Linked DNA regions of Homo sapiens: regions 2, 3 and 4 are each linked to region 1. The links are contacts of gene promoters, found by promoter capture Hi-C in blood cells and fetal thymus (Javierre and others, 2016). All regions are on one chromosome and are shown on one strand. Each heading gives the region's core, a stretch centred on a gene start or on the middle of the fragment in contact. The rest is flanking DNA. Distances are from core to core; before and after follow the strand shown. Region 1 holds the start of RBM26 (RNA binding motif protein 26). Region 2 has its middle 6.4 kb from the start of SPRY2. Region 3 overlaps OBI1-AS1 (OBI1 antisense RNA 1). Region 4 overlaps OBI1 (ORC ubiquitin ligase 1).

Region 1 (5,394 bases), core at 1,957-4,456:
CTCTCTCAAACAGAGGTCGTTTGGTAATTACAATGTTAAAGCAAAAAAAAAAAAAAATTCCTTTTAGATAACAGATCATAACATTTCACAAAACCAACGTTAGAAACCACTGATCCATAATTGGGATCAGCTTTTATAAGTCATCATACAAAAGAATCCACCTGAAATGCAATTAAAAGGACAAGAACTTGAATAAGGGCTCAATTTTACCACAGCTACACACATTAGAAAAGGACCAATTACAATTCCCAGTGTCTAGGCTCTACTAGCAGAGCCTTATTTATTACAACATAATGACTGCAGTGCTACAGCCATCGAGAGTAGGCTTTATGATACATGGAATATGTTTCATTAAGACTAAAGAAAAATTACAAGCATACACTCTAAGTAGCTACAGTCTTCTCATTTAGGTAAGATGGAGGGATACGGCAGTAAATCTAATATGAAACTGAACGCTTAAAGGAAAGCTATTTCAATCCAAAACATTTATAAGTTTTGTATTCACCTAATAACTACTGAATGCTAATTACACACCAGACAGTAGTCTAAGATTTCCTTAATATACACCCATTATTTTCCCAATTTTACAGTTGAGGAAATGGAAGCCCTGAGTTAAGTAACTTACCCAATATCATACAGCTGGTAAGTGGCAGAGGCAGAATTCAAAGCCAGACATTCTGCTCCAGAGTTCTCCTCACCGCTATACTATGATGCCCACTCTCCAATACACCGAAATAGGACTTCCATCTGCACAACTCTACTCCAGTGAAACTATTTTGCTAAGGTTACCAATGACTTCCACTTTGCTAAATCTAAGGGCTACCTATTTGCCTCCATTTTTTCATGCATTCTGCAGCATTTCATAAACTCCTCTCTTTTGCCATACACTTGTTTTTTAATGACATAAAGCCCAGTTTTCCTCCTGCCTCAGTACTAGGCCCTCTTCTCTTCCCTACCTACACACTTTTTCTATGAAATTTCCCACAATGTCATCGTCTTAAATACTATCTGCATGACTCCAGATTTCTCCAGTCCTGTCCTGAGTTTTAGACTCATATATTCAATGATCTGCTATCACACTTAGCTGTATCCCACAGACTTCATACTTACTGTATTTATTATTATCAAAACTAGCCATCCACTTTCCTTCTCCCCTTAACCTGTTCTCTGCCTTCTCTAATATCACCCATTCTGTTGCTTGGGTTATCTAAGGCACCACCCTTGATTTCCCTTTCCCTCATCTCCCGCATTTAATCCATTAATTTTACTTATGAAATGTATTTGGATCTGCCTGTCTCCACCATCACTCTAATGCAAACTAGCCACATCTCTGCCTACAACACACTTCTGAATAATCTTCTTACTTCCATTCTTGCCCTTTCAGTCTCTACAAAATAGGCAGAGTTAAAACAAAATTAAATCAGTCCTTGTCTGCTTTAAATCATCTCACGTCTTCCCATACATGATGTGGCCCCTACCTACTTGTCCAACTTGTTGCCTTTATATCCTCTCCCTCATCACAAGGCTCTTTCCAGCCACAGTGGCCTTTCTCTTCCTGAAACACACCACAATCACTTCTGCTACAGGGCCTTTCATTTGCTCTTCCTTTTGCAAGGAATGTTCTTTTCCAAGACTTTGACACACATGGTCCCTTCTCTTTAGATGTTACTCCAATGTCACCTTCTCTGAGAGTCCTTCCTTGACCAATGTGAAATAGCCCCCCTCATAATCACTTTTACATGATTCTCTATTATTACAATAGTCACAACTCTATTAATATCTGGATTTATTTATGTCTTGTCGATTTTAGAATTTAAAAGCTCTATCCCCAAAGCCTCCCGTAGTATACAGTAGGTACCTAATAACTTTATTAAATACGTGAATTTTCCCCATTGCATTATTGTAAATCAACCAATTCTGATTAAGCACTTTGGTCCATGTCATATTTTGTATTAACAAGTCGTCAAAACACTCCTTAAATTTTCCAATCTAAGACTATTTCAGCACTCTAACCGCAGCCCCCAACACAAAATCTATCTATAGCATCCCACTTAAAACTGCTAAATATTCCATATGGATGAAGATTCAATTTTCTTCCTCCTCTCCAAGCTAACGAACGCGTAGGCGGGAAAGGGGAATTTTACTGGCCACCTCAGCACCTGTTACATCTTCAATCAGTGAAGAGAGGTGCAGATGAGCCAGACAGCACATGGGAGACGTGGCCTTGCTTTCAGGAATTATATTTAGGTGAAACGTGAGTGATTTAAGCTAGAACTGCCCGAATCCCCAATAAAGGCCGTCTACTTCATTTAGAAAAACAAGGTAAAATAATCTGTAGGAAGTAAAATACAGTCGGTTTCACTAAAATAAACCGATTTTGAGGCCCCCGGAAAATATTGCGGGTGGGGGTTGGAGACGGTCTATATATAACGGGAAAACGAGAGCAGCTCAGCAATAAAATAAAGCTCGACTCAGGCTCTCGGGGGTATCCTGAATCTGGAAGCGAGGTGGACGAGGAGGAGAAGCCACAGAACCCTGGGACCTCCGTTCACCGCTTCGGCCTCCACCGCAGGCACTTGGGGAAACTGCACAGATCTCTGGGTCCGCCTATCTCCCACTGCCATCCCTGCAAAGAGATATCCCCCGGATACTCACATGGGCTCGAGAGTCTTGCTGAGCCAGGACTTGAGTGCCTCGAAGTTTTCAATGATCATTTTAGAAACCATCCACAGCGGCCCTAAGGCCCGTCACACTCCTCCGCCCGCCCAGGTCGCGGCCGCTACAGCCGCCGCTGCCCCCGCCCCCTCCTCCGCGCGCCGCCCGCGTGGGCCGCGGTGGGAGGCGCCGGTGGCAGGTTCCCGCGGGCCCCGGTCGGCGAACAGCTCTGCAAGGACCGCCGCAGGCCACAAGTGCACGGGGTGCCAGGAGCTCCCCGTCCCCGGCCCCCAGCCCGGGCTGAAACAGCAACGGTTTGCCCGGGCCCTCCCCCTTCCCTCTTCCCCAGCAAATCTACCCAGACCGGAAGCGCGACACGCGCTTAGACCCGAGCCTTCTCTCAGCCTCGGGACCAGGTGCTTGTTGGCTACGTCGAAAAGGCAAAAGTAAAGAAAGCGAAGGCGAAGGGCAGCTCAATGGGAACGATTCAGGGGGTCTTCCCGGCTCCCAGCACCCCCAAGAAGATGGCTGCCGGTAAATCTCGCGAGAATTGATGAAGTCTCGCGGTGGCTCCCGGAGCCTGCTGGGAGAGACGTAAGGTCGGCGGAGAATGCGCGGGTCGAGTGCTGTAGTTCGATTTTTGCGTGTGTGCGTTGCTTGCGGCCTTTGTGCCTTTTTATTCTTTGCTTACCTTTATGATATAAAGACCTTATTTCTTACAAGGAGGAAAAGACCGCTGACTTCAGAAACAGCGGGAACCCCAGCTCGTCCCCGGTAAGACGGCCGTGGCCTGTCAGCTGGAACGGTCCTGCCGGATGGATCGCTCTTTGAGAGCGTACACTCCCGCGTGCGCGACACCAGGCGGCCCGTAGGTTCCAGGTGCCGAGCACACTACCTCCTCAGTTTACCTAAGTGCCCTACCAGTATCATATTCTGTGTATGCTGTGATGTGAACGAGGTTTGTAAACACAGGCTGGTCTAATGGAGCCCAATGAGACCGCCAGAGGATTAGTGTCTTGTCCAACAGTACTTGACTTGCTGGTAGAGCCCTAATGACTGAGGGCTGCCCACAAGGGAAAGGTGAGAGAACCTTCACGTCTCTCAGGTAGTTTCCAGCCTGCACTTTCCCCCAGCTAAAGATAAGTTTTGTTATTTTTAAAATTCTCTTTATTTAGAGCAAATTCAGCCCTATCTCAGATCGGGAAATTATATAGTATCAAAAGAGAGAGTCTTCATATTAGCAACCCAAATAAATAAACTATTTTCCTGGGTGATCAAATAAGTTTGATTCCTGCTTGAGTTCTATTTAGATACTAGGTGGAATTTTACAAAGGGTCTACGTTCCATGAACTGTAATGGAATGAAAATATTCACAATCTAAAGACATTTTCAGTAAGTAGATCAATAAAAGCTCTTTATGAGAGACACCGATAGGCTAAATTGTTCTTAGGAACTCTTGAGTTTATAATTTGCTAGAGTGAAGTGTCTTTAAGGATTAGGTGGAAAGATTATGAACTACAAAGCAAGACATTTGTTTTAAAATACAGCATATAGAGTAGAATACAAATTAGAATCCAGCTACTGAATAACCAGGGTGTTGATTAAAGTGATTTAGCTGAGTGAAATAAACCAGACATGAAAGGACAAATATTATGATTCCACTTACATTAAGTACCTAGAGTAGTCAAAACTCCTAGAGACAGAAGGTGGAATGGTAGCAAGAGCAGGGGTGGAGAGGGTGCCCAGGAGAAGGGGAAATGAGGAGTTATATTTCAGTGGATAATAGAGTTTCAGTTTAGGATGATTTAGATTCTGGAGATGAGTGGTGTTGTGTGGGTTGCACAATATGAATGTACTTAATGCAGTGGACCATATACTTAATGAAAACGGTAGGTTTTATATGTATTTTACAATAAAAATTGTTTATAAATTTAATACTGCCGAAAGTTAAAATTATATTTGTTTAGTCTGTTTGTTGTAGCCTTGCCACAGGCTGACGCCACCAATATTTTCAACCTTATCACCAGCTACTCCATTACTCTGGCTCTCCACTTCAGCCTTCCAAAGCTTCTATCAAATACTGTATACCCCAGATAAACTGATTTGCTCACCCTCCCTTTCTCCAAACATTTGTTCACTTTATTTTCCACAGAGAACGCTTCTACTTCTTTCCCTGACTGCTCAAACTTTGCCCATCCATCTCTCATACCACTGTCACTGTCTTATTTAAAGTCTTTTATTCTTCCTAAATAATAGCAAAAGCCTTTTAATATCTTTGCCTTTTATGCTGACCTCCATCTCAGTTCATCTTCAGTTGCCCTCATCATCATTGCCTTTAATAGCAGTAATTCTAAAATTTTGATCTAATCATGTCACTTTCTTGCTTAAAATCTTCAACTTCCACATTATCTTTAGAATAAAACACATTATTTAACATCCTATAAAGGGACTTTCATAAATCAGACACCTTCCTTTTTGCCTAGAAACTCCTTTCAGTCTTTGCTCCAGCCATCCTAAACTATTTTGAGTTCCTTAAAATAAGTTGTTCCATGAAAAGGCCCTTTATGCAAAGTGCCCCCCAAACATCAAAGGAGAAATCAAATGAACAAAGCAGACAAATCCAGTTTGGTCAGTAAAGAGTGTTTTGTTGGGGGTAACTTACAGACAGAAGCATGGTCTTCAGTGGCAGCAAGACAGGTAGATGTCTGCCCTTTTACTCCCCAGACCAGTACTTACATG
Region 2 (5,394 bases), core at 832-3,331, 940 kb after region 1:
TTAGTCCTAGTACTGATATCTTGCAATGATATCACACATTCTTGAGAAAAAGAAGAATGAATAGCTATTTGGTTAGTTTGTTAGTTCTATTACCAAGGCAATCTATTTGAAGATGGCACAGAATGTAACAGTGTGTGCTGCTTCCACGACTAACAATTTGGGGCTTTCAACCATTATCTCTCCTAACAGCCCAGTTGCAATAGTAAAATTAGTCTATGCATGGCCTCTTCAGGGACCTTCCTGAGACAAAGGGTTTTGTAATGATGGACCTTTTGTTTTGACAACTGTGACTCTAGTCATTTCACTTTTGAATTTCCCAAATTCTGTTGATAATGCCTCTAGAAGGGAATTGGGAGTGGCTGTAACAAAAGATGCAAAGGAATTCAAAATAGACCACTTGAGTTCTTATCTAGATTGCTTGAAGGACTGGAAACAGTTATCTCTGGATCTAACCTTCTTTGGAGATATATTCTTTATCCCTAACTAAACTGGGGGAAAGCTCTGGGGTTCTCTCAGGGTAAGAGGGGTGGTGTTGCAGAGTCGACCTTGAGCTCCAGGCTCCTGCGGGTCTGGTTTTTTCCGGAGGCCTTGTATTCAACTGGGATCCACCTGGTGATTTTTACTGGTTAATTAATGAATACTCCTGTGAGATGCATGCACATTATGACTACAGTTTATGCAAGGTCTGATGTGAACTGAAGTTCTATAACAAGGCAGAAACAGAATTTCTCTGCTGGCCAACACGATTTTTCTCATTATTTTTTTCAATTTATCTATCCTTTGGTTTGAAGATTAAACTTCTTTGTAGGACTGATATGTGCAGAGAAAACCTAATCAGTGAGGACATTGCATTCTTTCACTGCATTTCCCTGAATAGCCCTGGGTTTATTTGTTTTTGTTTGTTTTTAACATTTGATCCCCTATGTTCTGGATCATATAAGCAAAAATCATTAATTGAAATTAGTATTTGGATATTACTGGCCAAGATTAGTAGCAGTTGGAAGATTTTAGCCCCGGAATAGTTGGAGGGTTTTGCTTTTATACTTCCTATTATGTGGACACTTGGTCAAAAGGGCATAGGAAGTTCAACCTGTTCTCTAAGAAAGATGTAGTTAAACAGATTCCACTTAAGCCATTCTTACTGTGCAGATGCCACACAATATCAGGGCTGCCGGCCAGCTCGGAATTAACCTCCGCTAACAGATCAAGTCCAAAATTGTTCAGTTTGGTAAACGGACTATGATTGCATGCAGATTTAGTTTGTTTGTTCCTTTGGACAGGAAGTGTTTTGAAGTTACAGAGAATCATTTGAGAATATTGTGGGGTAGGTAGAAACAGCTTTGTTTGTGCATATTGTGTTGGATGGAACTTTAAAGGATAGACTGCTCCAAGGATCTGGAGACTATATATCAAGGCTGCCTTGGACTTCTTTGGAACCTGGAATTGAAACAGGAAGATTCTTCACCTTCTCATTCATTTTCTTTTCTTTTCTTTTTTTTGCTCTCTCTCTCTCTTTTTTTTTTTTTTTTTTTTTTCTTTGACAGGTCTCACTCTGTTACCCAGGCGGAAGTGCAGTGGTGTGGTCATGGCTCACTGCAGCCTTGACCTCCCTGGCTCAAGAGATCCTCCCACCGCAGCCTCACAAGTAGCTGGGACTACAGTAACATGCCACCACGCCAGGCTAATTTTTTAAATTGTTAGTAGAAATGAGGTCTTATTATGTTGCCCAGGCTGGTCCTGAATTCCTAGGCTCAAATGATCATTCTGTGTCAGCCTCCCAAAGTAGCTTACAGTGGCTTACAGGAGTGAGCCGCTGTGCCCAGCCCAGCATTTCATTCTTAAAAAAAGAAAGCACTCACTCCGATCTCTGTAGACACTAGACACTCACTAAACGCTTTTCAATGAATGAATGAAATTAAGAAGTATAATTAGGCCGGGTGTGGTGGCTGACACCTGTAATCCCAGCACTTTGGGAGGCCAAGGTGGGCGGATCCTCTAAGGTCGGGAGTTCGAGACCAGCCTGACCAACATGGTGAAACCCCGTCTGTACTAAAAATACAAAAATTAGCTGGGCGTGGTGGCGCATGCCTGTAATCCCAGCTACTCAGGAGGCTGAGGCAGGAGAATCGCTAGAACCCAGCAGGCGGAGGTTGCGGTAAGCCAAGATCGTGCCATTGCACTCCAGCCTGGGAAACAAGAGTGAAATTCCATCTAAAAAAAAAAAAAGAAAAAAAAAGTATGATTAAAATAAGATAATATTTTAAAGTCTTAATTTTGTAAAAGGAAATTCACAGTTTTTGAATTCTTTAATGGCAGAAGTTAAGTCATTCTGCTGTTCTAGAAATTACCATTGTGTTTTGCATAATTACTAGGAAGTGACTGAAACAAGTTTGTTAAGGCTATGATTATTTGGTTTTGTTTTGTTTTTTGAGACAGAGTCTTGCTTTGTCGCCCAGGCTAGATTACAGTGGCACAATCATAGCTCACTGCAACCTCTGCTTCCTGGGTTCAAGTGATTCTCTTGCCTCAGCCTCCTGAGTAGCTGGGACTACAGGCTACCTATTAGCCTGTCACCATGTCCGGCTAATTTTTGTATTTTTTCTAGAGGTGGGTTTCACTATGTTGGCCAGGCTGGTCTTGAACTCTTGACCTCAAGTGATCCACCCACCTTGGCCTCCCAAAGTGCTGGGATTACAGGCATGAGCCACTGCGCCTGGCCAGGGCTATGACTTTTAATAGGTGAAATATTAAATACTTATTAAATTACAAATAAATCTTTATGGAAATGTGAGGTAACTGGAAATAAAGCTGTAGGGAACATCTAGTTTTAAACTATATAACAAAGAAATGACAAAGAGGATGATGATGGGTGGGTAAAGAATGTAGGTAAAAGTAAACTTTTTACTTTGAAAGATATGACTATATTAATAATTAAAATTAAGTGTTAAACTGTAATTTCAAATAAGAAGTTAGCAGTCTGTTAACTTTCAAGAACACATTTTAAAAATAGCTCAAGGAAGCCGTCAATTAGTGGACAGTTTGCCGTTCATGTTGTATGTGAGAAATCCCCTTGCACTTTTGGTAAGTATTCTTCTCACCCTCATTTTACACCACAGAGACCTTCTTGCATTATATCCTAACATGTGTTAAAATAAATATATGAGCAAAATTAAAAATTAGATCTTCAGTCTGGGCACAGTGCTTCATGCCCGTAATCCCAGCACTTTGGGAGGCTGAGGAGGATGGATCACCTGAGGTCAGGAGTTCAAGACCAGCCTGGCCAACATGGTGAAACCCCGTCTCTACTAAAAATGCAAAAATTAGCCAGGCGTGGTGGTACACATCTGCAGTCCCAGGCACTTGGGAGGCTGAGGCAGAATTGCTTGAATGCAGGAGGCAGAGGTTGCATTGAGCCGAGATCGTGCCACTGTACTCCAGCCTAGGCGACAGAGAGACACTCTGTCTCAAAAAAAAAAAAAAAAGAAAGAAAAAGAAAAAGAAAAAGAAATTAGATTTTCAAAATCATTATTTTCTTTTTTTAAACTGTAGTTGCTAATAGAAAAAGATGCTCAAGATTGAACTTTTGATATCATAATAGGTTCCAGAGACTTTGGTAGTTCAAGAGAGCTGGATTTGGATGCAATCTAGACCACTTTGGGTGAATCTGATCACAATTGCCTGTTGCTTAGATTCTCCCCTGGCTTCACATTACTTTCTGGGTAAAGATCCAAGTCTTTCAAACAACTTCAAGGTCCTACTCTGGTCTGGCTGTTTTCCCTCACCAGACTCCTGTTACACCAGTTCTCTTCTCTTCTCTTTTCTTTCTGTTTTTACACACTCTCTTGCTTTCTACCCTGCAGTTATGAAGGCTACTTTTTAGTTGCTCAGAAGCACCTCTCTCCTGCAACAGGGCCTTATTACATGCTATTCCCTGATGCACTTTTCTTATTAACCTTATTTGCTTTATTAACTCTTATTTATCTTTCTCTTTTCATTCTCTTTCTTTCTTTTTTTTTAGACGCGTCTTGCTATGTCACCCAGGCCGGAATGCAGTAGTCCTATCCTGGCTCACTGCAGCCTTGAACTTCTGGGCTCAAGCAGTCCTCCTAATTCAGACTCCTGAATAGCTGAGACCACAGGCATGCACCACCGCCATGCCTGGCTAATTAACTTTTTTTTTTTTGTAGAGACAGTTCTCACAATGTTGCCCACGATGGCCTACTTATCTTTCAAATCTCTGTTGTCATATTCTCAGGAAAGCTTTTTCTGACTTCTCTGACTAGGTGAAATCCCACCTTTTTTTCTCATGACCTTCTCCGGTGCAACTATACATGTAATTGTGATTGTTTCATTAATAACTGTCTCTTTCACTGTATTTTAAGGTCCATGAGGGCTGGAATCCAAGTCTGGTTTTGCCCACCATTGTATTTCCAGAACCGAAGGGCCTAATACATACAGGGAGCTCAAACATTAGTTTTCAATAGGATGAATGAGCCAGGCGCGGTGGCTCACGCCTGTAATCCCAGCACTTTGGGAGGCCGAGGCGGGCGAATCACGAGGTCAGGAGATTGAGACCATCCTGGCTAACATGGTGAAACCCCGTCTCTACTAAAAATACAAAAAATTATCTGGGCGTGGTGGCAGGCGCCTGTAGTCCCAGCTACTCTGGAGGCTGAGGCAGGAGAATAGCATGCACCTGGGAGGCGGAACTTGCAGTGAGCTGAGATCGCGCCACTGCACTCCAGCCTGGGGACAGAGCGAGACTCCGTCTCAAAAAAAAAAAAAAAAAAAAAAAAAAAGGATGAATGAATAAATGACTGAAATAATTAACCTTAGTCCCCACCTGTAAAAGAGGGGCATGGGGTCACTTGGAAGATTGGATGACATAAAGTATCTACCCAGCCTAGCATGTGGGAAGTTCTCAATAAGTAGCTGCAATAACTTCAGTTAAATGGGGCTTGATAGTTTATTTAGTAAAATTAGCTGTTTTGCTTCCATCCTTTCAAAAAGCTTTAAACTTAGTAGAATTTGATTTATTTTATGTTTGCATAAACACAGGAATAATAATTTAGAGATTTAGAATAAGTTTTAACTGTATTTAGCTATATTTACCTAGTAATAGACAGTGTTTCTTACATTAAATCTTAACCATACATTGACTTTTCTTTCATGTATGACTTCTTCAAAGTACATAAAACATTTTAGGGAAGAAGGGACCTGTTTAGCCGATATGGTTGTTTCTAACTAGAATATCTACTCATTGAATTATTTGTTCAGGAAATCTGGAGGCTTGAGAATGTAAATTCCCTCTTATTTGAGGGAACATTTAGGATATTATCCAACATTTAGGCTCTTATCCAACACTGGATTGAAGTATATATTTTTGGAATGTAG
Region 3 (5,394 bases), core at 1,947-4,446, 820 kb before region 1:
GTGCCTTTCTCTGAATGTGTTAAATGCCTTAAGGTCCTACGAAGGGAAAATGAAAATTTGAAGTAATTAAATTTAGGAGGGCAGGCTTGGAAATGGAAGTGACATGTTTATGAGAAAGGTACAGGAATGGTTATTATAAGGTATAGTTTCCCGGAACCCAGCATCCTCCCTGTAAGGACTGGTCACTAACACTATGGGCGTGCACGCTCTAAGCAAGTAGAGGCAGGAAGTCTGCGAAAAGCCCCAGACAGCCACTGCAGTGCCAAGTGTGCTGCTCACTAGCGACCCCTCTAGGTCTTAGAGAGAAGAGAGCTCATGCAGAAGAGTACTCGGGACCATTGCCGGGACGAGAAGCCCATCAGGCTGACTGCTCCATTAGGGAGCATCGCAAGCTCGGGGTGCGAAAGCTTCCCCGCCGCCAACCAGCCAGCCCTGCCCTGTGTAGACGGGTCGCCAGAGCGCGGCGCAGGGATCGAGCTCCGAGTAGCCCAAACGGGGAGGCTCAGAAATGCACGGGGAGAGCACTCCCCTAATCATAAGACAGGAAAAAAAAAGAAAGAAAGAAAAGAAAGAAAGAAAAGAAAAAGAAAGAAAGAAAGAAAGAAAGAAAGAAAGAAAGAAAGAAAGAAAGAAAGAAAGGAAAGAAGGAAGGAAGGAAGGAAGGAAGGAAGGAAGGAAGGAAGGAAGGAAGGAAAGAAAGAAAGAAAGAAAGAAAAGAAAGAAACTCGAGGTCTCGGGGATCCCAAGCGTGAAATGAATGGGAGAGAAAGGTCTGAGGAAAAACATGCGAACACCGAAACTCAACTGGAACCTGCGCGGGACTTCAAGGAGCAGAAAATCCAGCGCAGAGCTAGGGCGGAGGCAGCGGGGGGTCAGAGACCCTCCCTGTTTATTGATCACCTTTGGCATGAAATATCTTGTATATGGGTTCGGACCATCGCGAAGGTTTCAGACACAAACAAGCTACAGCAACACTTTCTCTACGCATCCCCTAGTTATTGAATAGCACACACACACACGCACACACACACACACAAACGCGCATCCCTGAGCAAGAAGGCAAAAAAGAATCCAAAACTTGAGCAGGTCGCCAGGCCCTTTTCCTCTCTCAGCCAAAGTATGCCCAGTCTACATCCCCGCCCCACCACCCCAGCCACGCGGGCGGGACTGCGTCCATAGGACGCACCTCGCAGATACTGCAGCCTCCCTCCAGTTGTTCCAGCTTCCCGAGGCCCCAGTTGTTTCAGTCCCATCGCCAACTGGCAAAAGCAGTTTTCTAGTCTGCCTTCTGAAGACGTCTCTTTTTATCCAAGTACTTTTGCCATAATATATGGGTAGTGTCTCACTTTCCCCAACTCTACAATGGACTCGAATAGACTGTTTTGTCTTTCGCCAAAGATTTGAGAAAGATTCTTGAGCTGTGGAGAGATTTTTGCACTAAAAAGATTCTTGAAGGAGAAGGAGTAGGAGAGAAGCAATAGAATATTTTCAAGCAATATCCAAACAGGCTTCTAGACTGGAGAATAAAATTAATTCAATAAAATATAACACATTTTTTTCCTTAACTAATAATACTCAGAGATGGTGATATGGATTTCATTAGACTTGAGTTACAGTTTGGTTGTAGACTCAAGACTGCATGAATTCTGTGTGTGCTGTTCCTGGGATTGGGCTGAAGCCTTACCCTCCAGGAATTAGAATATTTTCGGGGCAAGGTTGGAGAATCCATTAATAGAAGAATTATTTTTTTTAAAAAAAACTCTTGTTTTAATAAAGTCTTGCATTTGAGGCTAAATTTTAGTATTTGTCTGAGAAAAGTGGGTGGGTTCGGTTGTGTGTGTGTGTGTGTGTGTGTGTGTGTGTGTGTTTTCCTTTTGGCATTGGTATGTGTGATTTGCAGTCCAGGTTGTTAAGTTTCCAAGCAGGAACCAGTTAAAAATGCATGGATCCTATTATATGTACAATTTAATCACAAGGTATTTAAAATAGACATTTCCATCTAAAATCCAATCTGAAATCAACACAGTTCCTCCAGGCATTAGACGTTCATCTCGATTTTGCATTTGTAAACTGGGAGAAATAAATGTGACTTGTGGATACCAAGAGGTCAAGTACGGCTGCTCAAATATTTTTCTTACAAAATGACGGATTTATTAGACAAATAAGTAGCCCGGCTGATGCAAAACCCCCAGTGATTGAATTTTGACGTTAAGTCAACAACAACTCGAACTACATCAGTGGTTCAAGATTTAGTTATGATGGTAGAGATTACTGAACAAATAAGAGCCAGAAATGAATACAGATTTCTGAGGATCTGCCCCTGGCACCCTCTTCTTGACATTCTCCTCCATATGCTCCCCCTATTCATACTGTATTATAATTAAAGGACTTAGCTATGCCTTGCGATTGGAAAGGAACTTTAAAATAATTAGGCATATTTTCCTGTTTTTTTTTTTTTTTTTTTTTTTTTTTAAAGAGCAGGCTCAAGGAGAAAACCAGTTGAGTTTCATAATAAATTCCTTCTTGGCCTGAAAGTCACCCACCATTAGAAGGGAGGTAGCATTCAGTGGGTGTTTTTCTTTCTCTCTCCCTTTTTCAGGTTTTATTTTCATTAAGAATTTTGATAACCTGCTCTTTCTCTACCCCAGCCCCCACCATGCCCCCATGCCTCTTCCTCACTTTCCTATGAAACATCACTTTCTAAAATATTTGAGGACTTAGGCTTTATTTAGTATCCCACAGAAGATCAGAATCCACTGCTAAATAATTAAATCGCCGGTAGATTTTTAGGAGTATTTAGGTTTCACCTCTCCTGGGTCAATAGCTGCTCTCCCGCCCGCTCTCCCCTTGACCCTCCCTGGAGCTGGCCGCGGTGCTGAAAACCTTGCGTGACTCTTGTGAAAAGGGAGGGCACCACTAATGGAGGATTTGGAGGAGTTACTTATCTTTGCTCTTCATGAAAGGAAGCTTAAATAATTGAGACTACATTTAAACATAAAGCAGTTCATTTCTCATCTTTTCATGGAGAAAGGGACTGATCTGCTCCTAGTGTGAAAATCTGCCTTTTATTTATTCTATGTGTAACTTCCTTATTGTAGTGGAATAGTGACTCAATTTTCATTTGACTCTTGTGGAGCCAGCCAAGAATCCATTCCTTACACCTTCTTCTCTTATTCTGTGATTTTTCAGTTATAGTTTGGTTCCCTCTAGTTCATGGAACTGCTTATTTTGCAGGGACAAATCTATATTTCATTTTAAGAATTCATCTGATCAAGGGCTTGAAACAATTTCTCTTTGCAGATAGAAATTTGTTCTTTGGGTATCCAGGCACAAACCGCTAGAGGCAATAAAGTGGTGCCAGATTTTTATCCTAGATTTTATTTAAATACAATAATAATCCCACTCTGTAAAATAAGTTGTCCATCCAAGCTTCTCTCCCAGTTTGCCATATATCTCTCCCATGTATGCATGTACTGCTAATTTGTACAAATGTTTTACTTGTGCTGGGTTCTAAATCATCTATTGCTTTGGTTGCTCTCCTGATAAATAAACCTGGACATCCAAAATTACTAACCATCTAATAGTAACAGAATTCACTAAGTAGAACGAAATGTTTCATAATTATTTTGCCACTACCCACAATTAAATAATAAATTGTGAAAATGAAGCTCTTCTATTAGGGAGGGGGATGTCGTTCTCTTTTCTTCTTCCTTTTAAAATACTGAGTAGTATCTTCAGTCTAACAATACATCTGTTTACAGTTTGCCTGAACTTGTTTCTGAATTTATATTTCAATATGCTCTTTAGGATGCAAAATTCCTGTCAAATTAAAGAGTGCTCATGTCTTGCCCGCTTCTAGCAAATCACTTGCAGCACCTAATAAATCCAGCTGGGGTTCCTTCCATGGCCTGATGCTGCTGAAATCATTATTGTCCTGCCTTGTTTCATGTCAGAGGCCTCTTCGCCTCATCTGTCATGAAACCAATTTCACTTTATTTACATCCATTTGCTAGTTTAATTACTGTGCTGATGAATAGCCTGAAGGAATTAAGTTATGAGTCTTTGGAAACCCAAAGCGACAGATATATGGGCTACCTTTTAACTACAGGGAAAGAAATGAAGGCTAATGGCATGCACCAAAATTTAAAGATAATAAGTGTTTCTCCCTACCTGCTACTGTTGAAATTCAGGATGATTCTTTCTTCATGTATTCATCATCTCCTGGATGAAATATAGTGCTTTAGAATCTGTCATATTTACAGATTGACTTTTAGAATCTGTCATATTTACAGATTGACTACAGTTCTCTACAACACAATTTTCTATTTTTAAAATCTTTTTTTTTTTTTTTTTTTTTTACTAAAAGAGTCACAGATAATTTACTAGCCAAAAGCAGTGGTGTTTTTAATTAAAAACACCTCTCAATATTAACCTGTCCCTGTAACTGAGCACTTACTTCTATATAAAGACAGACAGGTTCCCTTGTGAAAATAAAGAATATTTAATACCTCCCATCTAATACATAGTACAAAGTACTCCACTTTTATACTGTAAATATTGTAATAGATCGCACTATATAATTTTTGTTTCTTATTGAGTACAATTTCACAGTTATCTTTTTTCAAGTAATCTTGCACTTTCTAACACAATTATCTTCTTTAATGTATTTTTGAATCATAAAAACATTCTGCTGCCTGTCTCTTTTACATATCCAATACAATAGAGCACTATCAGTCTTTGTTAATGACACAGGGCGTATGGGGTGAGTGAATAATCTGTGTTCTCAATATATATAAGTAGTCAACATTTACATATGTATTTTTTAAATCTAAGGTCAATAAACTTTTCAATAATTCTATTATCTTACAAATTAACTACTGCAGTGTAAGCCTACTAATTATGACAATATTAAAAAGTCATTTTCAAGGGTATTCTTTCTTAAATGCTATCAATAATTATAGATTTTTAAACTTAAAAAGTATTCTTGTGGCCCATCATCACTTACTGCCAATTATAACAATAAGTAAATATGCTTGAATTGACTTTTTATTTTATATTTTCTCTATCCTCAGGTAGCATTGCACATGAAAAGAATGTAACTTTTAAATCCAAGAACCTATATGTTTTCCTTTCATTGCTCTGTTTCTGATATAGGTCTGATATTTTAAAATCTGTACTTCCACTTGATTTCTCTAAAAAGAATTAGTTTAAGACACATGACAAATATGGTCATTATTTCAAGAAAGAATTCAAATATTTTTCTTACACACTTAGTATACTTACTCATTCATGCCCTCTCCATGCTGAGTATATAATTACATCTAATATTGTGCAAACTTTCTAAACTAGTTATTTAACTGAAAACAATTTTAAACACTCAAAGGCAAGAGATAT
Region 4 (5,394 bases), core at 985-3,484, 780 kb before region 1:
ATAAAAGTCATTCTCTTACTTTAAGATACACTAGTGCCTTACATTGAGACAGGGTTGACACCACAGGATAAGCTAAAGGTCCTTGGCCTTCTTTTTACATGTTAAGTATTATGACAGTCACTGTATTACTAAAGTAAACATGTTTTGTTTACTACATTTGACTGTTTACTTTATTTCACTGACACCCAGGAAAGCAACAGAGACTGACATATGTACAGTACAGCCTTTTTTGCTACAGGCTTGACATTCTATACTGCTCCACCCCAAAAAACTTCACCTTAGTAAGACTGCAAATAGATGAGACTTTTGACATGTGTCAGGAAATTTTCAGCTTATCCAAGATAACTATATTAAATTTGGCAAAGGGCAATTTACCTTATTATAGAGAAATAACAATTAGGGATAAGTATCTGATGCTATACTTCCATAGAAGAAGGACATGAGCTTATTTATCTTTGGGTTTTAATACTTTTGTATTCACACTAATTCTAGATATTTGGAGTATACAACACTAAATGAAGCTATGCCAAGGCAAGCCGGAGGGATTTCTAATATCATTTACCATACTTCCTCCTTTTCTTGAGTAAATTTCAAAATGGAGTATTTTTATAAACATTCCATTAGAGACCAAAAGGCTTTGATTTTCAAAGTAGCAGTGATGGCCAAAGGCTTCATTGTGCCAGAAAAAACACTGCAGAGCAGTTTGGGAGCTACAATTGATATCGGAACTGTATTCTGCCAGAATCTAACAGAAGCTTAAAGGATTTTTCAGCTTGCAATATTAACTGATACATACATTCTGGATGAGAGAGAAAAGGATGCCAGTTCCCCTTGTCCAAATAGCTCTAAGAGATACAAGATCATTTCTGTCCCTAGTAAAAGAGAAATGGAAGTCCTATTGGTATGACCTTTGAGGTGGTATAACTAAACTAAAGAGCATCTCTAACAACAAAAAGTTCCTAAGACCATATTTTCTCATAGTCTATCACACAGAAAAACAGGACGTGTTTGAAGAAAACAAATGTGGTAAAAGAATACCACACCTGAGTACCAAAAAACTAATAAGCTCTAGTGCTACGCTACTATCCTTGAGCAATTCACTTTGCCTTTCTGGTTCTCAATGGCAATTCCAACAAAATGGGTAAATGCAGCAAGCCCAGTGGGTGGCCAAGACTGCCAAAATTCAGAAATGCCTTCTTGAGGAGGAACAAGGGGGACATTGGGGAAGTCAGTCCACTTGCCTCATCAAACTTTGACTTTATATGTTTCCCTCACTTGGTAGCTGAGGTAATGAAACAAAGCGAAAGCTATCTTTGGACCTGGACCAGCTTTTGTGGTGTGGCCTATCTGACAGGTTTTCAGTGTTGATATCCTTGCTTTATATGGTTCCAATATGCACAAATTTCAGTTACCATGGTTTAATTTACAAGTCACCCAACAATATGGTTCAAATTTCAGTTACCACACCATTATTAATGAGTAACTGCATGAAGTAAAACCTTCACTTCTAGCTTTTCAGTTCAAAAAACACTACATAAATAATAGACGTGCTTCATGATCAGTGACCCATCAAGTCACTTCTTTCAAGGTCAGTCAGTGATTAGTCACTGTGCATTTACCTGTTTTTCAGTTAACATACAGACAGCAAAGTGTGCAGCTGGGCTGCTCCTTGTCTCCCAGTAAAAAACCCGCATGACATTTCACAAAAACAGTTAATAAAACGACAGAACTGGTCAACAAAGATGAAGGTGTAACAAAGAAATAAACAATGATAACATTGGAAGTGAAATTGAAATCAAATGTAAATGTAGTTATGGAAGAAATCACTGACTGTGGGAATATTACAACAATGTCAGTCCATTCAAGAAATTCTAGATATGCCAGAAGCACTTTGTAGAGGCAAACTTATTGACATGGATGAGAAAAGTGGTGGTGAAAAGGATGAAGATGTCTAGAGAAAATGACAGGCTGACAAAACACTTCGCACTAAAGCAATGTGGAGCTCTTTCACGATATTGAGAGCAAACGATAAAATGCTGGAAGTTGATGCAAACTTAGGAGTGTGAAAATTCATCAAGGTATCAGAAATGATGCTAGCTTCATATCATAAATTATATGAGAAGGGAAGCACTATTCAAATTATTCTCCAGAAGTTTTTCACAAAAAAACCACGAATTCTCAATATTTCTCATGTTTCAAATTGTACTACATAAATATCAATGTACTAAATATTACTTTTACTGTTCTTGCCTATCCATATACATATGTAATTGATAATAAGAGTTAAATGTTTTGACAAAGTTGCTAAAGGTCATCAAACAATTGTGATTTTTCCCATTAATTACTAAGACTGCTTTGGTCCATGGCTCATGCCTGTAATTCCAATGCTTTGGGAGGTGAGGCAGGAGGATGGCTTCAGCTCAGCAGTTCAAGACCAGCCTAGGCGACATAATGAGATCATGTCTCTCCAAAAAAAAAAATATATATCAGGCACAGAAGCATGCGCCTGTAGTCCCAACTACTCAGGAGGCTGAAGCTGGAGGATCGCTTGAGCCTGGGAAATCAAGGCTGCAAGTGGGCTTCATAAAGTAATGGTTGATATGGGACAAAACCAAATAAATTTATGTGTCTCAAATATTTTTCTTTAAAGAACTGCCACTTAATCTGAGAAAGAATGATCCATTCATAGAATGGATTTTATTGTGGACTTGCCTGTCTACATAGCCATAGTAGCTTCTCATTTCCTAAATTTCAGAAATATTAGGAAAGTATCTTTTCTATTTTAAACACAGGGAGCTAAGGTTTCAGAGAGAAGAGCTTTCCATTTGCCCTTTCCTTTCTTAATTATATCTCCCAACACACAATCTACCAGTTTCAGATTCTCTGAGTTTCCTAACTCCTCTTTTTGATTACACTTAATAAGTGAGTAGCCTTAACAGGAGCTCTATAGAAATCCGAGTTTTGACAGAAGTGAGAAGAAAAATGAAAAGGTCCTGGTACTGGTATCTATCTTGTGTACATGTGTGCAGGGTGGGTGGGGCACAATTTAGGAAAAGCGGACAGGGAGGACCAGAGCTGTAGGAAACCCAAAACTGTGTTAGGTGGTGGGGGAGAAGGTTCAAAGCCTCTGGCATCTCTTTTCTCTCACCTGCTTCCTATGGATCATTTGTGCATTACCCATCCTTGTATATGTGTTGGGAGGGTAGAGAGGAAACATTCTGTCTTTAAACTACTAGGGAAGTTTTGGGAAGCAACCCATACATTTATACTGTTGCTGAGCTATATAATTTGCCAATGTTTCCTCAAGAGAGTTTTCTCTTTTTAAAATTAAGCTGTCAGTTACAAAATTGCTACATTCCTAGAAATTTGTTAATCATAAAAGTACTATCTATGGTCAATCCTAGTCACACGCGTTGGTTCCACAAAAATGTTAAATGAGATATACTGAAAGAGAACATTTAAAAAAAAAAAAAAAAGGAAAGTGAACTTTTGGCTGGAATTTACCGAAAGTAAGTGTAACAAATACATCTTTAACACTGCATAACTGACTACTATTGACAATGATGATGACAAAAAGAAAAGCAGCTGCCACAATTCATTGTTTACTTGGCATCAAGCACAGTGCTATATGCTTGATATATATTATCTCATTTAATCCTCATATCAACTTTATGAAGCAAGATTCATTATTCTTATTTTAAAAATGAGAAATGAGAAGCTTAAAAGGGGCTTAGCAGCAGGAATAGGATTTGAATCCAAGTCCTTCTGAACCCATACACCATGTTTGAAATCGTATTAAATACTTGAACATAAGGCCCTTCTTAAATAATATCAGTACCTATTTATATTTCATATCAAAATGTAGACTAGATTTTTCTAGGCAAAATGTGTATACAGAGTCAATGAACTAGGATTCTTGTGCTATTTATTGGTACATACATTGGCTAATAGAAACACAGAGGAAATACAAAAATTGTAGGAAGACATATAGTATGTATGCACAAATTCAGTAAACATTTATCAAACCACCACCATATTTTAGGCATAAATCCAGTAATATTTTGAAATTTTAAAAGATCATTTATTAAAGTGGCCTTGCATGAAAGTACAGCATTGACAGACCACCCTGGTAAATGCCAACCCAAATATTTAACCAGAGATATAAAGACTAAGTTTGAAACAGAGCTGAAAGCATAATACTTAAATGTGCTATGTATAGAAAGTATGTATGATAAACTTGCCTGGTTCATGCACAATCAGCAGGTATCTTCAACTACAAGTAAAAGATGTTTTTTATATGAAATGAGAAAAACTAAATGCAAAATTTTAAGGCCTAAACATCACATGGGTTATTTCTCAGGGTATAATTAAGAGAAATAAAAAAATACAAGCTACGTTATGTTGCATCTTAGTTTTATCACAAAACAGAAAGTGTTCCAATATTTGCAAGAATAAAAAATGCCAGAATTTCACCCTTAAAGACAAAGTTGATAAAGACAGGGGAACAAGACAAAGAATTATGCCCTTGCAGTAATTCCTTATCCCTCCATCTTCTAAAAGTACCATTTAAAAATCAAAGTAGAGTTTGCTTTTCAAGTTTTCAAATGAAGAGCAGGGTTAATAATTAATAGCTTATATTATTAACACTATATTATTCATTTATTTTTGAGACAGGATCTCATCCTGTCACCCAGACTGGAGGACTGGAGTACAGTGGCATGATCACGGCTCACTGCAGAACAAAATTTTAAAGGAAATTCTTTGTGTGTTTATCTTATTAAACCAACTATGCATTTGTAGTTAAAAAACTGTGGTGAAAATTCTGAGATGCCTTAGAAATTAATAAAAATGACCTGAGTGTTGAACAGCATATGTGAACTGAAGAGGAACAGACAGCTCCCTTTTGTGGTAAACCTCTAAGGGCTGACCCACATAGTATTGGGTCAGCAGGTGGATAAGGAGAAATACAGAACTAAACTGTGTTCCATGCTGGCCAATTTCACCCTACTTGCTTCTGTGGCAATTGGAACATGGTCTCTGGCCTTCTGTTTGGAAACTGCAACTAGTTAGCCTCCATTTCCAAGGTTTCTTTCCTTCTCTCTGGGCAGCACACTGGGCAAAGTTGCCCAAAACAGGATGCCTAACTCTAAGTACTACTTTCTCTGCATTGCCTGTGAGGACAGACTACTCTTTTTACTGTGGAATAAATTCTATTCTATTTGACAAATATATCTCATTTTGATTCCATGCAGAAATGCCCTCATTTTCTCCCCTCTGCTCCCTTCAACCAACCAAGATCAGCCTTGAAATTTGCAGGACATTAACAGGGATCCTAATCTGTCATGGAAAGGAGAGAAAATTAAGACATGCTATTTCATATCTTTTTATTTCTAA

Evidence for each region. Contacts are between HindIII fragments. The CHiCAGO score rates a contact against its expected background, and 5 or more counts as called.
Region 2: a fragment that was not itself captured here is called in contact with the fragment with the promoter of RBM26 in region 1 in 1 of 17 cell types (fetal thymus); the score reaches 5.4 in fetal thymus.
Region 3: a fragment that was not itself captured here is called in contact with the fragment with the promoter of RBM26 in region 1 in 2 of 17 cell types (naive CD8 T cells and naive CD4 T cells); the score reaches 6.3 in naive CD8 T cells.
Region 4: a contact is called between a fragment that was not itself captured here and the fragment with the promoter of RBM26 in region 1, in 2 of 17 cell types (naive B cells and naive CD8 T cells). The highest score is 5.8, in naive B cells.

Annotation. Positions count from the first base shown.
Region 1 is chr13:79,403,049-79,408,442 of GRCh38, forward strand. It overlaps RBM26 (RNA binding motif protein 26), which reads right to left and starts at 3,207. Exons shown (of 22, transcript NM_001366735.2): 1 at 2,656-3,207. The coding sequence starts at 2,726. RBM26-AS1 (RBM26 antisense RNA 1) reads left to right here and starts at 3,261. Exons shown (of 7, transcript NR_038991.1): 1 at 3,261-3,429. RefSeq lists a silencer at 2,763-2,962 and enhancers at 2,872-3,863, 3,193-3,492. The HindIII fragment of the contact is 7,810 bases long and covers 1-4,720 here.
Region 2 is chr13:80,344,804-80,350,197 of GRCh38, forward strand. No RefSeq gene overlaps it. Among named protein-coding and RNA genes, the nearest start is that of SPRY2, 6.4 kb to the left of the region's middle. The HindIII fragment of the contact is 4,354 bases long and covers 1-4,258 here.
Region 3 is chr13:78,586,546-78,591,939 of GRCh38, forward strand. The region is part of intron 3 of OBI1-AS1 (OBI1 antisense RNA 1); the gene reads left to right. Among named protein-coding and RNA genes, the nearest start is that of POU4F1, 14 kb to the right of the region's middle. The HindIII fragment of the contact is 462 bases long and covers 2,966-3,427 here.
Region 4 is chr13:78,619,811-78,625,204 of GRCh38, forward strand. The region is part of intron 5 of OBI1 (ORC ubiquitin ligase 1); the gene reads right to left. Among named protein-coding and RNA genes, the nearest start is that of POU4F1, 19 kb to the left of the region's middle. The HindIII fragment of the contact is 2,963 bases long and covers 754-3,716 here.